Linked DNA regions of Homo sapiens: region 2 is linked to region 1. The links are contacts of gene promoters, found by promoter capture Hi-C in blood cells and fetal thymus (Javierre and others, 2016). All regions are on one chromosome and are shown on one strand. Each heading gives the region's core, a stretch centred on a gene start or on the middle of the fragment in contact. The rest is flanking DNA. Distances are from core to core; before and after follow the strand shown.

Region 1 (5,410 bases), core at 1,544-4,043:
TAGAGAAAGCACAGGGATTGTGACTAGACAACTGGGCATGAAGAATTTCACCTTGCCTAGGACCAGCAGAAGGTACAGAAGGTGCAATTCTCTTTTTCCTCATCAGTTAATATGAGAACTCTGCTGAGTAATTTACATTTCAACTTCACAATAACTCTGCAATAAGCAAAAATCTCCCATGGCAAGGATGAATAAATGGAGATTCAGATGGGTTAAGTAACTTGCCAAAGTCACACAGCAAGTATGAGACTAGACTAGAATTTGAAGGAAATCTGTATAATGGCACCATTAAATTCTAAGCCTGTTACTTGAAGAAAAGAAATCCTTTTCCACCCTGGGGTCATACTCACTTTAGAGGAAGAACTGCATGCAGAGACTTTTGTGTTTCACGATGATATTGGAACTCTATATCACAGTGTATTGCCTAATCTCTTCTGAGGATATAAGATTACTTGCTTTGTTGGTTTTCCTAAAAGTTGGCTCCTATAGAGCCTACCTAAGGTAACAAGAAATGCAGCTTCAATTCAAGCCCTGCAATGAACTCTGGAAGGGAACGCATCTGGATTCCCTTCACTGAGTATAAAGTGTAGCTTTCAGCCAGAAACACTGCCTCTTACTGCTGAGAATCCCACACCGAATCCAGAATTTTCACTCCACCCCATTTTTTACTACTTATGTTAAATCTATAAGAGCAGCTCTCTCTGTGTTGAATTGAAGTGAACTACACAACTCTTTCATGCCCTTTGTATAATTAACCTATGATGTATCTTTGGCTTCAAGAACTTAGATGAAAGGAGGTTTTTCTTGTTTAGCGGGTTGTTTGTGGACTCTCATCTCAGATATATAGATATGCCACTGGGCTGTTTTGTTCCCGGGTTGTACCGGGCAATGGAGGAATTCTTGTGCAGTTACTGCTGAACTGGACTGAATTTTTCTGAGTATCTCTTTAGGTTCTAGGTGAGGCATAAGAACCTACATATTTAGTAAGCCTCTCATGCACATTACATTTTGAAAAATAAATGCTTTAGAGGATTGTAGAAAAAACGGTGGCTGTAAAGTTTGTCTTTCTGCTTAAACATCCAGACAGTATGATGTTTTCTAAGCATCTATCTGATGATTGAGCAAATGCTTCTATTTGCTATGTCTACATCCCTCTCTTAGGAGCTGGAGATAAAACACCCCCTTGAAGCTTCCAGTCTAGTTCAGGAGGCACAATCAACATTTATAGTGCAGTGTAGAAAATTATTGCTATGCTTTGCTCTGTTAGATCTGGTAAATTACTCTGCCATAATACACTGACTTCCTAGTTAAATATTCTGTTAAAGTGGAGGTCATTATCTAAGGAATATTTTGTAGGGTTTCTCAATCTTGGCTGCACAATACTATCACTTGGAGAATTAAAAAAATTTGGCACTCAGGCTGCACCCCAGACCCTATTAAATCAGAGTCACTGGGGTTGGGATGCAGGCATGAGTGCTTTCCCCCCGGGTTTTAGTTTCAGTTTCTGTCTTAGCAGAATGTTTCTCTCCTACTCCTTCCCGAGCATCTGTACTTTGGGTCCTGGGAGGGTGTGTGTTTCCTAGAGACATCCATCATCAGTGAGCAGGGTTTTTATTCAGATCTGATAGAAGGCCACGTACTTTGCTTTCCATCTGGGATGCCAGGTCCAACTCTTTAATTAGGCTTTCCCCACGTCCGCTATTGTATCTCATTGTAATTATAACAAGTTGGCATGGCTTATGTTTGAGCAAGGCTTTGAATGATGTGGGCCTGTTCTCTGACATTTAAATTAGAAAAAATAAATTTGCTGAGAGAAGAACTGAGGGGCTACCAGAGAGCCCCCAACCAAATAGTCTATTTTCAGAAACATAATTTCCTATTTGTTTGTATATTGCATTTCAGGAAGTGTTAGGTGCTGGGTTGATGAGAGAGGTGTAAAGCAATTCTACCAGCCACCCACAGGTAAGATGTTAATTACATTGGGTGGGAGCCCAACACCCGTTGAAAACTAGATCCATGAATACTGAGACGGGTGATTTTCCACTGAAAAAATATTTTTCCATTCTGGGGGTTATGCTGCTGACCTGAGACAGCAATTTAATAGTAGGGCCAGTTAGCTTATATTAGATTTCTTTTTAGCCCAGGACTTTCTCAAAGTCCCAGCTAAGCCTAGGGACAGAATCACTGGCTTGGAAATGCAGGACTCTAACGTTCTCCATTGTTTGCGCGTTTCTCCAGATGCCCATCCACTTCGGCCTGGGTGGTCCAAGCTTGTGTTGCAGGCAGCTGCAGAGGTTCCAGCAGGCTCAAAGCCTCTGACGCAACCTTCCTTGTGAAGACTGATTGGCCAAGAGCTGGCAGCCAGCCACGGCTGTTTTTTTTTTTTTCCCCCTCCAGTGTTTGCACTTTTATGTCTAAGCTGCTACCTTTGCTGAACTGAACGGAGGCAAAGTGTTTGAGCTTTATTTTCAAAACTGGGAAGGGTTTGTGAGAAGAAAGCAGTATCCAAGTTTTCATGTGGGTCTCCAGCAGATCATGGCAGTTTTTTGTTGTTGTTGTTGTTGTTTTTTCGGTAAGCATTTATAGATTCAGATATCTCAGAGTTTTGTTATTTCTTTTTTTTTTGACTTTATGCTTCTCAAAGAATCACTGATTAAAGTAATTTAAAGGATAAAACAAGGAGGCAATGTGTGCTGCTCATCTTTTACAGCTTCCTGAATTACTAATAGAAGACTCAAATATCAAAATGCTGCCTAATTGTTTGAGTGCCCACCTTGATTTCAGAGACAAACCCACTTATTACTTCCACGTCTTGTCTTTACATATTTCCTTATCCAGTAAGGATAACTGGGCTTGAACAAGGGAATGGAATAAATTGCTTTTTGTTGACTGTTGTCTAGGTGACAGTCTGAAGTAGCTAATCCTTACAACAGTTCTCTAAGGAGGGCGCCATTAATATCTTGATCTGACACCAGAGGAAGCTCAGAGAGGTGAAGCAACTTGGCCAACGTTACAATACAGGGATGCTAGGAACTGAACCCTGGTCATTGTGACGCCAAAGTCCATGCCTTATGATGGCCATCACTTGCCTCCCTGCCTCAGCTAATGCACAAGGCCAGGGCCTAGAAGACATCTTAAAAATAAGGACTGTTTTGCACAGGCAGCTCTTATCATCTGTGTTATTCACCACTATATTCCCAGAGCCTGGAATAGAGCCTCCTACATAGTAGATGCTTGGTAAATGTCTTCTAAATGACTGAACACTTTTCTTTTCATTGGAACTCTTCCAACAGCATTGTCAAAATATGTAAGCTTTGATCTAAATTATGGTGGTGTATTATTATTATTATATTTAGTGTTGAACTTGGAAGGCTCTTTTACATTTTCTGAATTATGCTTTGAAGGGAATGAGAAACCCCGTTGTTTGGTTCTAACTGGTGTAGTGAGTGTCAGCAACTTAAGCCCTTTCTGCTGCCCCCAAGGAAATCAGCTCCTGAACAAATACCTGTGGAAGAAAAATACAGTTTGTGTCTTATCTGATTCAGAAAGTTTTGTCTTGCTCTTCAGAGGCAAGCTGGTGAAGTTCTGGCACCATCAGATTCAGTGAGGTCTGTTTAAATGTGAAACTTGTTTAAAGAGACAGTGCCTGCACTGGAAATGCCAATAGTCAGTGCATATGATGCCAGGTTTGTCAGAATGTGATGTTTTTCTGTCTTATTTTATGGACATGCAATATAATATATGTCTCAAGGGCTGAAACATCTGTGATAACATTGGATACCTAAACTATATCAAGCTGGGCATAATCATGCACTGGCATATGCGGGCTCATGTCCATGTAGGTTTATTGATGGAAAACGGAAAAGGGGGGAATAGTTTAAATTATCAGTCTTTTCTATGAAGCAAAATAATTGATCTTTTTGTAGAGTATTTTTCTCTGACTGTTTTCATGAAACATAAAAAGTTGTTAAAATACTTTTGCAATTCATTGGGACTGCTTCTTCTAATCTCTTCTTGTAAATGATTCTTTTTTGTAAGAATATTTAAGAGATTATATAGAAAGAATACAATATATAATAATAGTAATAATACCAAACAACAAGTATTTTTTGTTCCAGTCATTGTTACAAAAAGGAACTTTGTCTATAATACCTTAGAGGTGGATACTATTAGTCTACTTATGTGTGAATACCAGGGCTCTGAGAGGTTTAAGACCACACAGCCAGCAAGTAGTAGAAATGAGCTTTAGGTCTGGGTTTATCTGAGAACCAAGTTCATGGCAGGTTCTTAACCACTGAGGACTCTATCTCCTGGTCACGTAGACAAAGCTTTTGGACTACTGTGGTTTCTCTACTACTGTCCTTCCTAAAGTATACATGCAGTAGGTACAAATTGTACTACTTTAAATGTTAATTAATTTGTGAATTTACTAATAAATTACTTGGTCTCTGCATACTGGGGGAGGCCATTTAGGTGAGGGCACCTTATTGTATTTTGGCAGAGAACTACCAGATCCGGGAACTCAAATGTCATTTCGTAAAGGTATGACTACATCTTGGGCCAATGAACCAATGTAGGCCTCGTATTCACAGAAGCAAATGATAGTAACCAGAATCCACATAGAAAGATGTCTTACTTTGTGACCAAAGATATAACTTGAGAATGTTCTATGGAGAACATTTTCTTTTTTGGATGTTTGGTTTCATTTGGAAACAAATTGCAGTATGAGATGTGGAATGACATGGTGAACAAGAATGAGGGGTCGAGGGTAAAATCGCCTAGATTGGAATTTCAGTCCCACTGTTTACTATCTGGACATATTCCTTCAACATCCCTTGCCTCGGTTTCCTCATCCTTAAAATATGAATAAAGTTCACTTTGAAGGTCCAGTGGAAAGATAAAAATAAGATGATCTTGGAGGTTATTTTTGTCTAACAGAGTAAGTGCTCAACAAAAGTTGACAATGATTGTTAAATTTGTTTTCCTTTATTTTTACAGTTACAGAGAGTGTTGGGTGAATATGGTGATTCAAAGTCAATTGGATATTTCTAAGCATTATCTTAGCAGGCTTGGAGAACCCAACATGTGATTTTTCTCCATCGTGGAAAAATGATCAAAGAACTAGAAACCAGGATCTGGCACAGAGTTCCCACTTCTTTAGCTGGAGCTAAAAAATATACCCATGGTGTCTTACTTTGCAGTTTGTACTTTCTGAGAGTCTGGGCTACACTTCTTTTTTTCTTTTTTTGTATCATTAACAGACTGAAATTCGGCGTTCCTTTTCTAATTCTCCACTGTTCACTCTTGCCTCACACTCCTTTTCCCATGCTACAGTGCCCCAGTTTATGTGTATGCTAATTCTAAGTGGTGTTAGGTATTTGTTCTTTTCTGACATTCACCTTGGCACACA
Region 2 (5,410 bases), core at 1,865-4,364, 300 kb before region 1:
CTTTCTTGCTTCATCTCCTTTATCATCTTTCTGTTTCAAGAAGATTTTGCTTGCTTTAGTCATTAGACTTGACCTCTATTTTGAGTACTGCCAGCCTGTGGATGTCCTGCTATCAACTCTTCAAATTCACCATGTCTAAGATCAAACCACTTTCCTGTATCCAAATTTATCCTCCAAGACTTGCTATCTCTTTGAAATTACTATTTTCCCAGACACCCTAGATAGAAATCAGAAATCACATTTGACCTTCCTGCCCTTCTTCACCCATACTCCTATGCCATCAGCTGCTCAACCTATCTATCTCAGTAACGTAGCGTTTCTTTGGAGAACCCTTGGGTTCCTGCCTTTCCTCTCCCAGGTTTAGGCTCCCCTTACTTCTTGATTAAACAACCGCAAAACAGATTCATGCCTTTGCTCTCTTGTTTCTCCAATTTACCCTTCACATCACTGCAGTTATCTTTTCTAAAATAAAACCCAGGCCTGATAACATTCTGCTGTTCTACTTCATCAATTAACTCCACACATCTTCAAACCTGAATATCAGTAAACTCTGTAGAGACCTAACTACTAGTGGCCAAGAAATATATTCCACTGAAAAACGAATGACCTGATTTCTTAAAAACATAAATTGCAAAATTTAAAGGGAGGGGAAACTGCCAAAATTTTTAAAAACTGCCTGGCATGGTGGCTCATGCCTGTAATCCCCATGCTTTGGGGGCCGAGGTGGGTGGATCACCTGCGGTCAGGAGTTCAAGACGAGCCTGGTCAACGTGGTGAAACATTGTCTCTGCTAAAAAATACAAAAATTAGTAGGACGTGGTGTCACACATCTGTAATCTCAGCTACTTGGGAGGCTGATGTAGGGAAATCACTTGAACCCGGGAGGCGGAGGCTGCAGTGAGCCATGATCGCACCACTGCACTCCAGCCTGGGCAATAAAGTGAGACTCCATCTCAAAAATAAATTTTTTTAAAAAACTTAAGTGACATATAAATCAAATGTAATATATGTATTTAGTTTGAATACTGATTTTTAAAAGCCTTCTTTATCTTTTCAAGATACATGCCAAAGAAGTGATAAATAATATGCTCCAAAGCAACCCATCAGTAAGGAGAGGTGAGGGATTCAACAAGATTGGCCATGTTAATAACTGCAAAAGCTGGAGAGAGGTTTCATTATATTATTCTACCTTTGAGTTGTCTGAAAAATTCCAGAGTTAAAATAAATTTGTTAGAAAAATTGCTGTAGAATATAATTTTATGTGGCACTTCTCAACCTTTTTAATATCATAGCACTATATTTAAAATGTTAATATTTCTATGGCACACAGGAGTATATGGACAAATTGCTTGTAGACAAAAGCAATCAATTCAGGAGCAAAGACTACTGAAGGATTTGTTAGACAGCCCTAAAGACTAAGGGGATCAAAACTTTGGGGGTATCTGTAACCCAGCCGAGACCCTGCTTGAGAAATTCTGAACAAATACAGATAGCTGTTCATTAAGTAATCGTATGTGAGGAAAAGGAGACTATTAACACAGTATACACAGAAAAAGCCCATACTTTGTTATGGCTGTAGTTAGAGATGGGGGTTTCCTACGTTGCTCAGGCTCACCTCAAACTCCTAGACTCAGGCAACCCTCCTGTCTCAGCCTCCTGTGTAGCTACTAGGATTACAAGTGTGAGCCACCTTGCCTGGCTTAAAAGTCCATTCTTGTGCTTGTGTGAGTGTGTATAAAGAACTGGATGGATGACACTGCACATGTTAACAGTGATTATTCGTGAGTAGTGGTATTATGAGTCATTTTAATTTTCTTTTTTTGCTTTTTAAAAGTAAATATTCTACAATGAAAAAACTACTAAATTTCTTAATAGTTCTTCATGGCCTAGCCTCAATTTGCCTTCTTCCTAGTTTCACTCCCAAATATATTCTGTGCTGCAACCTCTTTCCCAGGCATTTCATAACTCCATTTCGTGTGAAGAGGTCTCCACAACAAGAAGTGTCATTCTTTTCTGTCATTCAAAATAGTTCTTCCTCTCAGAACTGAACAAGTGAATGGGCTCAAATGTTATCTGAAATCTGTCACAATTCTCTCCTCTCTCCTCTTCATCCCGACAAGCTTCCATCCTAAGTGTTCCCACATTTCAATGAAGTGGGGAAACATCAGACCTAGAGTGAAAACACACACTGCAGACTGACTTATGCACTTTACTGGCCATGAGGGAGCAGTATGTGGCATATAGGAGGTACTTAATAAAGCGAGTTGAATAAACAAATGTGCTTGGGCAGATTCCTTAATCTCAAGTACTGACTTTTTGCCCTGGACATCAAAGATGGTAACTCACAGGTTCACTGTGAGGCTTGCAGAGTTTTGGTTTAAACTAAGAAAAGCTATGCAAATGACAGCAACCATTTGAAGACGGGTACACTTTGGATACCGAAAAATGCTCTAGTACACTATACTCGTTTGAGCTTACAGCAATCTTCTAAGCAGTTATCATCTTTATTTTACAAATGAGGAATCCGAGGCTCAGAGAGGCTAAATAACTTGACAGAAATCACAGAGCTGGTAGAACTGGGATCAAGATTCGAAGTCGGATCTCTCTGCTATAATGTGCTCTCATTCGCCAGGCTAACGACACGTGATATTCACAGGGCACTGTCCAATCTGCCTCTATTATAGGTATTCGCCTGACCACCTTCACCTCTCCACTTAACTGTCAACTCCACGTGGGCGGGGCGTTTTGCACCTCCTGAGCTCGCAATGAAGGTCTGTGAGCAACGGCCTCGCCTCTACAACACCCGACGGACCCTCTGTGCCTCCTCCCCAGCCCCCCGGGCCCACCTTGTGGTGCACAGCTGCGTCTCCCCCATGAGGTAGCGGGGCAGCTGCTCCCGCAGCTGGATGCGGCCCCGCAGCGCCGCCTGACAGAAGGTGCCGTCCAGCAGGATCTGGTACGGCTCGCGGACTCCGAAGTTGTTGCGGAAGAAGCCAAGATGCTTCTTGGCATGTTTCTGCCTTGTGATCTTCATGCCTGGCTTACCGGGACCGAGGCCACCGGACCAGGAAGCATCAGTAAACGCCTCACGCACGCCCCAGTACCCTCAATGCCAGTTTCACCCGGAAATGAAGCGCCTTTGGCCACGGAAGCAAACGCCTCTGTCTTCCGGGCCTGCCCATTGGTTTACGTCATGTCCAGACCAGCGCGCGCTTCCACCGCAGTGCCCGCGCTTAAAGGGGCGGTCCCTTAGGGCGGAACTTGTGCGTACGCTGGAAAACCGCTGGGGTGCGCGATTCCGCACGGGGGCGCACATGCGCAGTCTGGGGCCACGGTAAAAGAAAATTACGAGAATACATTTAGCGTGTTACCTACGTTTTAGAGGCGCGTAGCAAGAGCTTCTCTGAAAGACTGGCAGTATAGTAGTAGTCAGTGATAATATTGAGCCTTAATATGTTCCAGACACTGTCCTAAGTGATTTACCTTACATTATTCCCCTGAATGTTTATAATTCCCAAGTGAAAGAAGGAAATGATATATTGGATAGCTATGAGTGGGGAGGTTTGTACTGGCTGCTTTCCCATAAAGAAATTAAGCACGTTCACGAAGGGCACGTAGTTTGTTAGTGTCTGGAACCCAGTTTTCGTGCCTGAAGTTCAAATGTTCTTGCTACACCACCATAGAAACTAACGTCACTCAGGAACCATTTGTCAGGGCAAAGGGTGCCACCATTTTGCATTTCCTCCTGCCTTAGGACCATCCTAAATCACTCGCATGGAGTGTTTTGGAAGAACTCTCAAGAGCTTCGTTTGCCTAGAGTCAGAATTCCTAACCTTGAGTCCTGGTTTTGCCACAAACCCAAGCCGTTTGATCTTGGGCAACTCCCGAAGAAAGCTGGGTTCAACTTCCTCACTGTCAAACTGGTTGTAGGTCTAGATAAGTTTCAAGTACTCTTTTTATGTGCATGGTCTCTGACATAGGAAGACTACATACTGGGCCAGTAACAGGAAGGCACAAAGCTGACTGGAGGTTTAAAAATTACTTGGTCAATTTGATTAATGAGGAGAATGAATCAGAAAATTTCAAGTTCTCCCGTGGCTAACTGTCGAGTATCCACTTCAAGGTAAAATAATCAAAGAATGGGGAGTATGGAATTTTGCATTTTTGTCCTTGCCTGGAATCTGTCCCAGATCTAGTTTTGGCTAAAGATTGAAAGAACCAGCACAGAAAATGATTTACAACGTGATTGAATGCATTGTTTGCATTTGGGGTTTTATTTCAATATGTAGGTTTATGAAATTGGAATAAGATCTATAATGTTAGCCCTGATCTGAGTCCCAGCACATCACTTAGATGGTTGCTTTCATTTAAACTTAAAATGAATTTAGGAATTGGAAGCCATGAAAACTTTTGCAGGGTTGGATTCAAGGTCTTTGAGTGTAATTGCTCAGTACTTTTCAATTTGAATCCTCTTTTTATCCCTGTATGCCAACTCTCTACTCCAACTATGCGCCCACCACAGACAGAGAAACGAGATACCACCTGAGTCTTGCAAAACAGTTAAAACATTTTTTCTTAAATAGCCTCAGATTTATCTACCAGCTCCTTGGCCACTTTTCAGTACTAAGAAAAATGTGGTGCAGCACTAGGGATTTTAGTCTTATCTTAGTTTTTGTTGTCGTTTTTTAATTTACCAAGCTACAGCACATTTTTTCCCCAAGCTCTATGTATATGACAGTGCCAGTTTGCACCCTATCTTTATTATGAAAACATGAAGATGGTCTATAATGGTGATTATCAAGTTTAAAACAAAGTTTTCGGCCGGGCATGGTGGCTCATGCCTGTAATACCAGAACTTCGGGAGCCCGAGGCGGGAGGATCACTTGAGCCCAGGAGTTGGAAACCAGCCTGGGCAAAATAGGGAGCCCCTGTCTCTGCTAAATTAAAAGAAGACAAAAAGAGAAAAAAATAGAGTTTTCTATTACAGCAGTGTTTCTCAAAACAAGGTCCTGGGATATGCAGAAAAAGCTCTTAGTGTGCTTGTTTAAAATGCCCATTTCTGATTCAGAATAAGTATTGAGGGAGAGGGGTACTATTCAAAGAGGAAGTGACATTTATTACAATCTCCCCAAATCATTATTATGCTCATTAGTGTTCCTGAAGGACCTTTTTTGTAATAAAGCATCGTTTATCCAATAAGATATTTTTATTAATTGGTCCACTTAATACACTTTTGTTTAGATGCCAAATGATCTGTAATGGAAAATCAATATTTAGCCACAACCAAGGCAGAAGCCAAATACTGCCATTATTGAGTGAACCATTTGGATATAAATTTAAATCTGAAATTTTATTTTGAAAGTTATGTCATTATTAAAATATTTAATATTCATTGAAATTTTTTTGACCT

What was found. The method cuts DNA at HindIII sites, captures the fragments that hold promoters and counts their contacts. A CHiCAGO score of 5 or more calls a contact.
Region 2: a contact is called between the fragment with the promoter of UTP23 here and a fragment that was not itself captured in region 1, in 1 of 17 cell types (non-activated CD4 T cells). The highest score is 5.0, in non-activated CD4 T cells.

The regions. Positions count from the first base shown.
Region 1 is chr8:116,468,861-116,474,270 of GRCh38, reverse strand. The region is part of intron 2 of LOC105375711 (a long non-coding RNA gene); the gene reads right to left. Among named protein-coding and RNA genes, the nearest start is that of LINC00536, 150 kb to the right of the region's middle. The HindIII fragment of the contact is 1,042 bases long and covers 2,273-3,314 here.
Region 2 is chr8:116,764,228-116,769,637 of GRCh38, reverse strand. It overlaps UTP23 (UTP23 small subunit processome component), which reads right to left and starts at 3,114. Exons shown (of 3, transcript NM_032334.3): 1 at 2,847-3,114. The coding sequence starts at 3,034. It also overlaps a transcript of EIF3H not described here. RefSeq lists enhancers at 2,728-3,037, 3,048-3,197. The HindIII fragment of the contact is 9,967 bases long and covers 2,123-5,410 here.